Linked DNA regions of Homo sapiens: regions 1, 3 and 4 are each linked to region 2. The links are contacts of gene promoters, found by promoter capture Hi-C in human tissues and cell types (Jung and others, 2019). All regions are on one chromosome and are shown on one strand. Each heading gives the region's core, a stretch centred on a gene start or on the middle of the fragment in contact. The rest is flanking DNA. Distances are from core to core; before and after follow the strand shown.

What was found. The method cuts DNA at HindIII sites, captures the fragments that hold promoters and counts their contacts. A contact is called where the count stands out against the background at its distance.
Region 1: a contact is called between a fragment that was not itself captured here and the fragment with the promoter of NNAT in region 2, in 5 of the 25 tissues and cell types used here (H1 embryonic stem cells, bladder, dorsolateral prefrontal cortex and 2 more).
Region 3: a contact is called between the fragment with the promoter of RBL1 here and the fragment with the promoter of NNAT in region 2, in 1 of the 25 tissues and cell types used here (lymphoblastoid cells).
Region 4: a contact is called between a fragment that was not itself captured here and the fragment with the promoter of NNAT in region 2, in 1 of the 25 tissues and cell types used here (dorsolateral prefrontal cortex).

What each region holds. Positions count from the first base shown.
Region 1 is chr20:37,142,013-37,145,200 of GRCh38, forward strand. MROH8 (maestro heat like repeat family member 8) reads right to left here. Exons shown (of 25, transcript NM_152503.8): 11 at 1,705-1,829. Among named protein-coding and RNA genes, the nearest start is that of RPN2, 36 kb to the right of the region's middle. The HindIII fragment of the contact is 5,272 bases long and covers 1-3,188 here.
Region 2 is chr20:37,519,821-37,522,986 of GRCh38, forward strand. NNAT (neuronatin) reads left to right here and starts at 1,430. Exons shown (of 3, transcript NM_005386.4): 1 at 1,430-1,583; 2 at 2,538-2,618; 3 at 2,847-3,166. The coding sequence starts at 1,512. The coding sequence ends at 2,939. The region is part of intron 1 of BLCAP (BLCAP apoptosis inducing factor); the gene reads right to left. RefSeq lists an enhancer at 1-502. The HindIII fragment of the contact is 18,819 bases long and covers 560-3,166 here.
Region 3 is chr20:37,094,140-37,097,503 of GRCh38, forward strand. RBL1 (RB transcriptional corepressor like 1) reads right to left here and starts at 1,858. Exons shown (of 22, transcript NM_002895.5): 1 at 1,634-1,858. The coding sequence starts at 1,789. RefSeq lists enhancers at 1,217-1,316, 1,550-2,226, 1,877-2,146, 2,267-2,316 and a silencer at 1,587-1,646. The HindIII fragment of the contact is 15,633 bases long and covers 1-3,364 here.
Region 4 is chr20:38,007,671-38,011,018 of GRCh38, forward strand. The region is part of intron 2 of TTI1 (TELO2 interacting protein 1); the gene reads right to left. Among named protein-coding and RNA genes, the nearest start is that of TTI1, 24 kb to the right of the region's middle. The HindIII fragment of the contact is 4,274 bases long and covers 1-3,348 here.

The DNA.
Region 1 (3,188 bases), core at 432-2,931, 380 kb before region 2:
TCCTAGGCTCAAGTGATCCTTCCGCCTCAGCCAACCAAAGTGCTGGGATGACAGGGGTGAGCCACTGCATCCAGCCTGCTGCTCTTACATTTAGAAAGAAGCTTTATTGACCAGGTGCAGTGGCTCATGCCTGTAATACCAGTTGTTTGGGACCCTAAAGCGGGAGAAATACTTGAGCCCACGACTTGAGACTAGCCACTTGGCCAACATGGAGAAACACTGTCTCTACTAAAAATACAAAAATTAGCTGGGCGTGGTGGTGCTTGCCTGTAATCCCAGCTACCTGGGAGGCTGCGGGAGGAGAATTGCTTGAATCTGGGAGGCGGAGGTTGCGGTGAGACGAGATCGTGCCACTACACTCCAGCCTGGGCGACAGAGCAAGACTCCGTCTCAAAAAAAAAAAAAAAAAAAAAAAAAAAAGAAGCCTGGCATGTGGCTCATGTCTATAATCCCACCACTTTGGTTGGGAGGCCAAGGCAGGTGGATCACCTGAGGTCAGAGTTCAAAATCAGCCTGACCAACATGGAGAAACCCCATCTCTACTAAAAATACAAAATTAGCCGGGTGTAGTGGCACATGCCTATAATCCCAGCTACTCAAGAGGCTGAGGCAGGAGAATTGCTTGAACCCAGGAGGCGGAGGTTGCAGTGAGCCAAGATTGCGCCATTGCATTCCAGCCTGGGCAACAAGAGCGAAACTCTGTCTCAAAGAAACAGCCCCCCCAAACAAAACAAAACAAAACAAAACAAAACAAAACAAAAAGAAAAGGAAAGAAAAGAAAAAGAAAGAAGCTTTATTATGAGATCTTCAGAAAGAGTCATACTTTTATACGATAGGACTTAAAAAAAGGCCCTAATGTTACACAGCTGACAGGTTCCCAGGCATAATTAAAATGCCTTGTCAGGAGACAACATACTAAAAGAATGTGTCATTCTGTTTCTCATTGCATTTGGTAGTAAAGTCCTTCACATGATTATAATAGGTACAATCTACTGGGCACTTACTATGTGACAAGCATTTAGCAAAGCATTTTCCATACGGTATCTCCTTTAACAACGACTGAATTGTAAACAGTATAAATTGTAAAAAAGAAATTGTAAAAACTGTCCCAATTTTTACAGATCTCCATCGCACAGATGAGAAAACTGATGTGCAGAGAGATGAAATTACTTGGTACCTTTCACCCTACATGAGTAAGATCTGTGGGTTTTCTTTATTTTCCCCTATTCCCTAGCATACCTGGTACCTGGCAGATGTATAAGTATTTATTGAATAATGAATAACTACATTAATTTAAAAAGTCTGGCTTGTTGGATCAACCATACTCTCTTGCAGCTCCTTTTTGTGACCAGCATTTACATTTGCAAGAGACTCGCAATTATGAATAGTAGGAGCAGAGCTGGTATGAAGTGAAGTCCAGGGATACTGGCCTCAATGGCAGGTTGACCTTAACCCCCAAACTAAGAAGGCAAGGCATATATGGGCCAGGAACATGGTGCCTTGTCTCCAAACTACGGAACGTTTAGAGACCACGTTTCCTGGGCAATTGTGTATGGTTTTGTTTTATAAGAAACTACCAGAACTTTTTCCAAAGTGGTTTTTACTGTTTTACGTTTCCATGAATAAATGGCAGGAGACTTCTGGTTGTTCCCCATCCTTGCCAACACTTCTGGCTGTGGTTATAATTTTAGCCATTCTTATTACCTGGGCAATTCTGAAGGGACAGTTGTAGAAGCATTTAGCGGCAGAGCTGTGGAGCTCCAGGAATTCTCGACATTTTGTCAATGCTCTTTTCAAGTTTTGCTGATCTTTCTTGTCATGAGTGATATCTGAAAAGAAAATATAAAATATTAATACTTTCTGGCTTCTTTTTTTCTTCTTGATTTTACAGGTCTGGTTGATCTTCAGTTTAAAGTGGATTCCAAGATCTCACTCTTCTTTTTCACTTGAACAAAAATGCCTGGGGGAGGGAGTGTTTGTTCATCTGAAGGCTGATTTATTTCTCTTTCCTTCTAGAACAATACATAAAAAGAACCAAAAGAAAAAACAAAGAGGAGGTCGAGGCAGATGGATCACTTGAAGTCAAGATTTCGAGACAAACCTGGCCAACATGGCGATACCGAAAAATAAAAAAATTAGCCAAGCATGGTGGCGCACTCCTGTAGTCCCAACTACTTGGGAGGCTGAGGTGGGAGGATCACTTGAACCCAAGAGGTGGAGCTTGCAGTGAACCGAGATCACGCCACTGCACTCCAGCCTGGGTGACAGAGTTAAGACCCTGTCTTTTCTTTTTTAAATTTTTTTTTTGAGGCAGAGTTTCACTCTTATCACCCAGGCTGGAGTGCAATGGCGCGATCTCAGCTCACCGCAACCTCTGCCTCCTGGAGGTGATTCTCCTGCCTCAGCCTCCTGAGTAGCTGGGATTACAGGCATGCGCCACCATGCCCAGCTAATTTTGTATTTTTAGTAGAGATGGGGTTTCTCCATTTTGGTTCAGACTGGCCTCGAACTCCTGACCTCAGGTGATCCACCCACCTCAGCCTCCCCCAGTGCTGGGATTACAGGCATGAGCCACCATGCCCAGCCAACCCTGTCTTTAAAAAGAAGAAGAAGAAGAAAAAAGCAAAAGCAAAGAGCTTTTTGTAAGACCAGAGCATTTGAGTGATTTGTGAGTACAACCAAAGCATGCTACCTTATTTCCCCACTGGTGAGGAACTGTGAGGGGTCTCCCTATGAAGCTTAGGTTCCCAGAAAAAATTGCCCAACTCTATACTGTGTATGATAATTCTGATATCAGAACTCTTCATCATGTGTCAAGTATGCCAATGCTCCTTGTAGTGTCTTGTTTTTCTCATGTTTCATTGTGACCTAATATTTGCTGGAAATTCGTAGATGGAAAATTTATCTTTGAGCCCTTGGCTGAGGATACTTTCTCTCCAACTAGAAAATAAGTTCCCTGGGGGAAGGTATCTTGTTTGTCTTGATTACTGATGCATCACTAGAACAATAAATGCTTCATAACTATTTGCTGAATCAATAATCAACGTATTTCTTTGGCTGTATACCTGGTAGAGATTGCTCATACTGTGCCCAATGACAGGACAGTTGCTTTGGGAAGCATGGAGCTTCCTCATCCATGTGAAGCGCAGACTGAGGCAGAGGAACTACGGTTGTGTGTAGCTTAACAA
Region 2 (3,166 bases), core at 180-2,679:
CATAGGTGCTCAGGCACTAAGTGCAGAGTTAAAGCTGTTAGCGGGGCACTGCCGGCCACCAGACCACAGGCAAAGGATCCTGAGGCAGCTACAGCCTCGAAATATTTTAAGATGGCAGCCTAGGCTAAGCTTGCCTTTTTCAAACAGCCCAGCGTCACTTTGCCAGAATCTGCCAACTTCTCCGAAAGTCAATGTAGAAAAAAAGTCACTATGCTACTTTGTCCAAACTGAACTCGTTTGGATCATTACACCTCCATCTGCTGCTGGCACTGTATAGAACCTGACCTCTGGGAGCTTTTAATGAAAATTAATTTTCTATCCACATAGGGGCAAATGCCAGTTGGTCCCTGGGCCAGGCAGCTTGCTGGAAAGAGGTGCTTTCGGCTGGCTACCGGTGCGCGGGGACCACACTCACAAACCGCATTCCGGTCTTCCCGCCCGAAAATCCGCGCTGTGCGAGGGACCCACAAGACTGGCGGTCTAAAAGGGACCCGCCTCACTTGGAAACGGGGCTGCGGTAGCCACAACCCTCCGGTAGCGGTAGCGTAACCCCGTTCGGTGATCCAGCCGCACAGCGCAACGGGTACAAAGAACCCCACTGGCTAAGGCCGACCTACCAGGGCTTGGGGGAGGGGAGCGGAAGACTGAGGTCGAAACGACCTGTCCAGCAGAAAACTATCCCCAAGCATATTCCAACCACTTCTCCGTAGAGCTCATTCCTTCCGTGCATACGAAGGGCGCCAATCCTTCCTGTATCCCTCCTACAGATACCGGGTGACTACTGCTTTTGCGCCCAAAGCGCAGTGCTCTGGCTCAGCTCCCTACAGTAGCGACCTCCACCGCAGATTCTCATCTCCTCGCTACCGTAAGAGAGATGTAAAGAATCAGACGGGTTACGCGCTCAGGCACCCTCATGAAGCAGAGGACCTGGGCTTAAAACTCATTCAGTATCAGGAAAAGAGCGCCGAGCACGGGCCTATTATGCCAAAGCTTCTGAAAGGGGCACCACGTTTTTTGCTCTATGGGGCAGATGACCCCTCCCTAATTTCGGTTTTCCATCCATCCCCAAGGTAGGCTTTGGAGTGGCACCGGAGACTGAGCTCAAATTTGCAGGCCAGGGACTGGGGAGAAGGGCGCCACACTAAGAGACCTGCACCCCCATTCTCGCCCTGTACTCTACCCAGAGTCGTGGTACCCCTCCATTTTAAAGCAAAATCCAAAAGCAAGCACGGCGGAATCTTCTGGAAGGGGGCTAAGATGGAACTCAGGAGGCGGGGGTCGGTATGGAAAGAGCAGATGGATTATTTTTTTCCTCTCCTGGCGAATGAGGAGCGCCCCCAGCCACCCCTCCTCATAAACACCCCCCAAGGCGCGCATGCGCACTTAGGTGGCGGGCGGGTACTTAAGGCGCGGCCACCGCGGCTGCGGCAGTGCGCCCAACAGCGGACTCCGAGACCAGCGGATCTCGGCAAACCCTCTTTCTCGACCACCCACCTACCATTCTTGGAACCATGGCGGCAGTGGCGGCGGCCTCGGCTGAACTGCTCATCATCGGCTGGTACATCTTCCGCGTGCTGCTGCAGGTAAGTCTGACGGGGTTTCGGGTGGGAGAGGGTTCCCAACTCGCGCCCCTAGAACCCGCAAGACTGCGTCGCGATTGCCGCTTCCCGGACCCGTCCTATTCCGATTGCCGCGATCCTTGCCTGCCCAAGTGCCGCTGCCGGCACCGCGCGCCCCCTGCCCATTCCCTGCGCCGTCCTCCTCGCGCTGACCCTCCCTAGTGCGCCCGCGCCTGCCAGGGAACAAAGACTCGGGGCGCGGCGGGCGACCGCTGCGGACGATCACCCAGGCATTTAGCGACCTACGCGGTAAGAAAAACCCGCTACACCCGGACTCGACCCCAGGAGGGAGGCGGGGCACTACTGTGTTGAAAGACTTTACAGCTCGCAGAGTGAAAATTTTCCACCTTAAAAAATTGCGCATTGCGGAGAAATTTTATTTAAAAAAACATATAGCGCTTGCGGGGGTGGAACAAAAAATAAGTTAGAAAAAGGCACTTCTCAGAAAAAATAAAAATTACTTCGCAAAAAAAAAAAACCCTACAACGAATTAGAGAAAAAGTAGTTCACAGGAAAACAGAAAAACGCGCATTGCAGGAAAAATAAATCGGAGAAAAGCACTTGGCAGAAAAAAATGCATTAGATTAAAAACGCACTGCAGAAAAAAATTAGACAAGGGAGCTAACGGAAAAAAATGGATCGGGCAAAAACGCTTTAAAGAAAAAAATTAGAGGAAAAAGCCCCTCGAGAGAAAAATAGAAGGGGAAAAAAAGCACTTCCAAAAAAGGACAATTGCTTTACAAAAAAAAAAATAATAATAAAAAAAATAAAAAAGAGGCAAAAGCGCTTGGTGTAAAAAGAGATAAATCAGAAGAAAGCGCTTTGCCCATAAAATCATTTACCCTAAAAGCTCCCTTTGCAGGAAGAATTCCCTGCTAAAGGAATCCTTTGCCAAAGGAATCGCATATTTCCTTCAAGGTGTTCCTGGAATGCTGCATTTACTGGGTAGGATTCGCTTTTCGAAATCCTCCAGGGACACAGCCCATTGCGAGAAGTGAGGTATACCTAAGTTGTGGGTCCAATCAGCTTGCCGCCATGCAGCTCTCAGCACAGTTGGAAAAGCTCCAGCTGCCCTGACTCGTGGACAAGCTGCGCCCGCGCCCGCCTCTCCAGCCTACGCTGGATGGGCGGGCGGGGCAGGGGGTGGGGCGGGGGTGGGCACGGCAGCACCACAGACATGCTGTGGGTGCTCTCCACTAAGGGTGGGTCCTGGGTTTCTCGTCGCAGGTGTTCAGGTACTCCCTGCAGAAGCTGGCATACACGGTGTCGCGGACCGGGCGGCAGGTGTTGGGGGAGCGCAGGCAGCGAGCCCCCAACTGAGGCCCCAGCTCCCAGCCCTGGGCGGCCGTATCATCAGGTGCTCCTGTGCATCTCGGCCAGCACGGGAGCCAGTGCCGCGCAGGAATGTGGGGTCCCCTGTGTTCCCTCGCCAGAGGAGCACTTGGCAAGGTCAGTGAGGGGCCAGTAGACCCCCGGAGAAGCAGTACCGACAATGACGAAGATACCAGATCCCTTCCCAACCCCTTTGCACCGGTCCCACTAAGGGG
Region 3 (3,364 bases), core at 608-3,107, 430 kb before region 2:
AAGAATCTGAAACAGGTGCATGCCTTGACCATAGTTTGACACAGTAAATGCTTATTCAATGACAGATGGTGTGACCTTGGGCAAGAGAGACCAAATCAGACCTAGGATGTCAGAAATGCTTTCTCAGGCTTTCAAAAATCAATCTGTTTTCAATTGAGACGCCATTCATTCTAATCTCCCTTACTTTCTTATTCTTCCCACAGCTCTCCAGTCATGCCACCCACGGATGTGGACCATTGTCCTTTACCCAGTCTATCCAGTTCTGAAGACACTTTTTTCAGGTACTACTCCTTCATATATAGGCACACATACAATCGACACTTTTCCAACTCTATGCCTTTGAACCCAGCAATTATTTCACTGGGTGGTGAGTCAGTGGTGCACCCTGGGAGTGGGTCCAGCGCCCTTGGCACATGAAAGCCTTTGAACATGAGGCCAGTGGTGCTACATGAAATACACTCCATCACAATTCTGTCTACACTGGGCTTATGCTCGTCTGGGTTTCTTTCTCTGTTTTTAGATAGAGTCTTGCTGTCACCCAGGCTGGAGTGCAGTGGTGTGATCTCCACTCACTGCGGCCTATGCCTCCTGGGTTTAAGCAATTCTCCTGCCTCAGCCTCCCGAGTAGCTAGATTACAGGCAGGCGCCACCACACCCAGCTAGTTTTTGTATTTTTTTAGTAGAGATGGGGTTTCGCCGTGTTGCCCAGGTTAGTCTCGAACTCCTGGCCTCAAGTGATCCGCCCGCCTTGGCCTCCCAAAGTGCTGGGATTATAGGCGTGAGCCGCCACGCCCAGCCTGGGTTTCTATATTAGAATAATCCTAGGCAAGACAACCTTCTGAGCCTTGCCATTATCACCTGGAAAGCAGTCTAATACTCATTGCCATGCCATGTTCACAGGGCTGTTGCGAGGATAAAATGCAAGAATGATGGGGAAAAAAATCAAGTAATTATAACTGACATTTGTTTTATTCAGAGCCAGACACTGATGCAAAGCATCAGGACGATGCTCTGACGGAGGAGGAAACGTAGGGCTGAGATCAGCTTCGTGTGCACATTGGCTTTGATCAAACTGCTGCACAGCGACCGGCAGCTCCACCCTGGTGAAGCAGAGGGTGGAGGTTAAACGGCTCAGACCCTGGGTCTGGCTCCATCTCTAACCGTGTGACCTTGGGCCTGTAGCTTAACCCGTCTAGGGCTCCGCTTCCTCTTGCGTGAAATGGGGATCACAGAAGGGGTTCAGACGGAACTGAGGGTCCATTTAAAGCTCTGGGCAGTGATGTCTTGGCATGCAGTTCATTTTCACTTTACCATTATATTTGTTCTTACTGATTTAAGGGCAGCACCATGACTTTTGTGGCGCTTGGCGGGGTAGAGGGAAGTGTGGTCAGGAAGCCTGGGGTCTGAGCGGCGCGGGACCTAGGCCGCTCCTTTCCTGAGCTTCAGTTTCCCGCCTCAAAATGATGGGTGGATTGGCTGAGCTACACCCACCTTTCCCGCCCCTCGGCGCTTGGCTGCGCAGCGACCCTCCTAGGTGGGGAAACTCCCACCACCCCATAGGCCGAGGAAGGGGCGGGGCAGGGGTGGGGCCTGGCGAGGGTAGGGTCCGGCCGCCCCACCTGCTGCCGCTCACCTCTAGGCTGTAGTTGCCTCGGATGGCAGTAAAGTCGTCCAGGGCTTCGGCCGCGCTCCCCTCGTCCAGGTTCAGCTCCTGGCACAGGGCCTGTAGCGCCTCCCCGGCTGCGGCGACCACCGCCGCCCCCTCAGCGTGGGGCTTGTCCTCGAACATCCCTTCAGGCCCCGCGGGCTGCGCGCCACGGCCCCCGACTTCTTTCTCCCTCCCAGGCGCGCTACCCACAACCACCTGCGCCAAAGCGCGCGAAAATCTGCAGCTGCGGGACGTGTTGTCATCCACCGTCTGCCTCCGCTTTTCTCCTCAAAAAAAGTCCGTTTTTCCTCCGGAGCTCCTAGCAGTCCCTCCCCGGAAATGTGATAAGAAGATGTACCTCAGATTCTGAAAGACCTGTCCTTGGCCCTTGGCTGGTCGCGGGGGGCCCAGCCGGCGGGACAGAAAAAGAGCGGAGGGATCCTCAGCCCGCGCGCAGAGCCTGCTGGGAGGTGTAGTCCATCTCTTGGGAGATGAAGCCCGCGGCCTCCCCCTGTCTTCCTGGTTAGGCTCTTGGGTTTTGGGGCAGGGCTGGGCTGCCTACTGCGAGGTGGCCTCGTGCAGCGTAGTGAGATGCCTCCTCTATCCACGGGCCCTGGGTTTGTCACTGTCCCTGGGCGCCAAACATAATCTGAGCTGTACCCCTTGAGTTAGGAGATGGAGGCTGGAAGAGAAAAAAGTAGCCCCTGGACGAAGAGGGGCCTCTTGGGACTCTCCCCAAAGTCCTAGTGCCCAGTGAGTGGTTCGCTAAATGACAGAGGGGAAGGATTGGTGACGGATATTAGAAGACGAATCCTCATCTCATGCTAGTCGCTAAAAGAGGCAGGCAGAGAAGACTGCAGTAAATGAGGCAGGAGAATAGGGTCTGGAGGCAGGGAACCTATGGCTGTTTCACGTGACTTCTTAGAACTAAATTGAAAGGAAAACCCCAACTTTCCACGCCTAAGTAACAAAAGAACCAGAGGCTGTTCCCTTGGACCTTTTCTGCATGGCAGATGGGAAATTGGCTGTCTGCAACAAATCACACTGAGCGCCTTCCAGTCTTTGTTTGCAACTTTGTAACTTCACTCCAGCCTCTGAACGGTTGCTGTCCACAACCAATCAGACTGATGGCGGGAGAGTCTTCCTTTGCATAGAAGTATAATTTTGTTAACTTCACCCTGGCCTCTGATTGGTTGCTTTCTGCAACCACTCAGACTGATTGTGGGCTACCACTTCAGTTACATCAAGAGAGCATAAAGTGGCCAATGGGAAACTTCTAGAGGGTATTTGGACCCCAGAAGATTCTGTGTCTGGGCCCTTGAGCTGCTGCGTGGGTTCGCTTCCCCACTATGGAGTGTACTTTTGTTTTCAATAAATCCCTGTCTTCGTTCTTTTGTTGTTCCATTATTTGCTTTGCCTGTAATCCCAGTACTTTGGGAGGCCGAGGCAGGTGGATCACTTGAGTCCAGGAGTTTGAGACCAGTCAGGCCAACAAGGCAAAACCCCGTCACTACTAAAAATATAAAAATTAGCTGGGCGTGTGGGTGCACTTGTGTAATCCTAACAACCTGGGCAACTGAGACATGAGAATAAAGAATCGCTTGAACCGAGGAGGCAGAGGCTGTAGTAAGCCAAGATTGCACCACTGCACTCCAGTCTGGGTAACAGAGTGAGACTCTGTCTCAAAAACAAACAACTGAGGACACATCTGTCAAA
Region 4 (3,348 bases), core at 38-2,537, 490 kb after region 2:
AAAAACTCTGATAACCTTTAGCACCTGCTAATCTCCTTTTCATCAAAGAGCATCTGCACAGAGCAAGAGCAGCAGCAGATGGGAGATGACAGGGCCAGGCAACTGGCAGTATCAGAGAGCAAATGTGTGAGGTGTGAGCCGGAGGTTCCTACACCCAGGGATCCATTATGACATTCTTCAAACTGCATCCCCAGTTGTCTATCAGCTACTTAGTGCACTCTAAGGCACTGGTTCCCAAATAGTTAAAACCTGGACCCAGCATTTACACTGCTAAGACTAGATATGCTGCAAAGATTATTTCTAGATTCAAGGCTGGTGACAGACATTAAAATGTCTTTGCTCACAAATGGCTTTTAAACATATGAAAAGAAGCTCAATCTCACGTTTAATGCAAATTAAAACTATAATAAGGTGCTATTTTTCTCCTATTGGATTAGCAAAGATCAAAAGCTTGGTAATACACAGTGTGGGTGATGGCGTGGCAAAACTGGCACTCTCGTACATTGCTGATGGAGTTTAAATTGGTACAACCTCTTAGAGAGCAATTTGATACTCTCTCAAAAATTTAAACGTAATACCCTTTAAACCAGCATTTTTTTCAGAAATTCATCCTATTAATATACTGAGACATGTCCAAAATGACCTACAAAGATATTCAATGCAGCATTTTTTGTGGTGGCCAAAGACTGGAAATGACCAAAATGTCTACCAAGAAAGGACTGGTTAAATACACTATGGTGCAGACGCGTGATGGAATACTATGCAGCCATAAAAAGAATGCAGCAGCACATTCTCCAAGTTGTGAAGTATGTGACATAAATACTTATTTTCAAAGCTACCCTATTTTTTTCTTGTTATGAATAATCAGCTAACCAGCAGTTGGGATTAAGCAGTAATTAACTGATGCTTCTTGCCCTTACCGTGGCACCTAATGCTTTTTTAGTCACTGCATGTGACACACTATGTTAATGATAACTCAATTTCCTAAAGCTCTTACTGGGTTCTTCTAAGGCCTTTCAGAAGTTCTCTGAGAACACATTTCCACACCCATCTTAAAAGAGTGGACGTCAGTTAGATAATTCTATGACAAACAGAAATGACAGCAAAAGGTACTACTCTGATTTATGAGTGACTATACCAACTCCACCTGAGTACTACTTCCTGTTCAAAAAGTGAGTGTATTCTGGGTTATTTCAAAACTTTCATAAAAGCTAGCTCTAAGTTTGCTTCTGTTCCAAGGAAGCCCCAGAGTCAGTCTTAACCATTCAATTTTCCTTTCTGCAAGGGAGACCCTCTCCCTCCACCTCATTTTTTTTTTTTTAAAAGCACTACAAAGCTACACAGGAGTCTTGACACTCCTCCTTCAGAGATGACCGAAGACATCAGCAATCTAAGACAATTCAATTTTGAAGGCCCAAATTCAGATACCTCTTGAGAGATATATTTCACAGGGCTTTTCTTAACCTACATTTTAAAAATTTCAAATTGAAACATAGCATAGGTCGCTAAAGCAGTACAGGTGGGATATATTTGGCCCATGGAAGCCAGTCTTAGTCTGCATAAGCAACCAGTCAGTCCTATGAGGGGCTCCACGAGGGCAGGCCTAAGTGGGTCTTATTCATGGCTGACTCCCCAGTGACTAGCCCACTACACAGGCTTCCAAGTAGCTGCAAAATAAAATCCAAACTCCTTCTCTTGCTCCTCAAGGCCCTACCAGGATTTGTCCTTGCCCTTCTTTCCAACTTCATCTTGCAACACTCTCTACAAAGGCCTCTTTTCCATTCTCCAAAGACCCATGCCCCTTCTTCCTTCTGGGCCTTCCCACCTGAATTTTTATTTATTTATTTTTTTTTTTGAGACAGTCTTCCTCTGTCACCCAGGCTGGAGTGCAGTGGTGCAATCATGGCTCACTGCAGCCCTGACCTCCCTGGGCTTAGGTGATGCTTCTACCTCCCAAGTAGCTGGAATTACAGGCATGTACCGCCACTCCCAACTAATTTTTTTCCATTTTTAGTAGAGACGAGGCCATACTAGGTTGCCCAGGCTGGTCTTGAACTCCTGGGCTCAAGCAATCCGCCCACCTCAGCCTCCCAAAGTGTTGAGATTACAGGTGTGAGCCACGGCACCCGGCCTGAATGTTCTTAAAAATAAATGTGATAGCCCCCTATGTGTTGATGGGCCTTTCTCATCCTTCAGGTTTTGGCTTTAGTGTTGCTTCCTCAGAGAGGCCCTCCCTGACCACTGAACTTATAGGAGCCTGTGTCTGTTACACTGAGGTGTTTATTTCCTTCACGGTGTTTATCAGAATCTGCCGTGAGCTTGTCTAATGATTTGTTTACTTGTTTATCATCTCTCTTGCAGTGGCAGGGAAGTTCCATGAGTTTATTCGTCTTTTTCTCTGCTCTATCTTCATTACTTAGCACAGTGTCTGACATATGGCAGGCACTCTTGAATGAATGAATGAAAAAGGAACATTTATGCTGAACGTGAATGCTCATGCATGAATAAACAAACACTGGAAATGGCATTAGCTACAGGGCAGTGCACTGTCCCTGCCCCAGTTACCTTCCATGAGAATGTTTCTTACAAGGTCTTGGCTTTTTCAACTGACAAAATGAGGCCAGTGACCATTCCACCTTCTCAGAGGCTATTAGCAGTACTGAGATAAATACTGGAAATATGCTCTTTAAATAAAAGGGACCCAAGCTATACAGCTTATTATTTTCTCATTGAAAGATTGACTATCCAGTTGAAGGATTCCTTTCCTTATAATTGAAGTCCAAAATTTTGCCATTCCTTTTTTTTTTTTTTTTTTTTTGAGACAGAGTCTCACTCTGTCACCCAGGCTGGAGTGCAGTGGCGCGATCTTGGCTCACTGCAAGCTCCGCTTCCCAGGTTCAGGCCATTCTCCTGCCTCAGCTTCCCAAGTAGCTGGGACTACAGGCGCCCGCCACCACGTCTGGCTAATTTTTTTTTTTTTATTTTTTAGTAGAGACGGGGTTTCACCATGTTAGCAAGGATGGTCTCGATCTCCTGACCTCTTGATCCGCCTGCCTTGGCCTCCCAAAGTGCTGGGATTACAGGCATGAGCCACCGCCCCCAGCCAATTTTGCCATTCTAATAGTGGCTAACATCTTCGGTAAGCACCCAATAGGATCAGTGGGAAGAAGAGAAACTTAAACCAACTCACACAATTAAAAGGTTAAAAGGAAGTTTCTAGACCTGCTCTGTCCAGTATGGTAGTCACTAGCTACATGTGGCTATTAAAATTAAGTAAAATATAGAATTCAGTTCCTCAGGTGCACGAACCACATGTGTATAGTGGTAACTGTACTGGATAGAACGAAT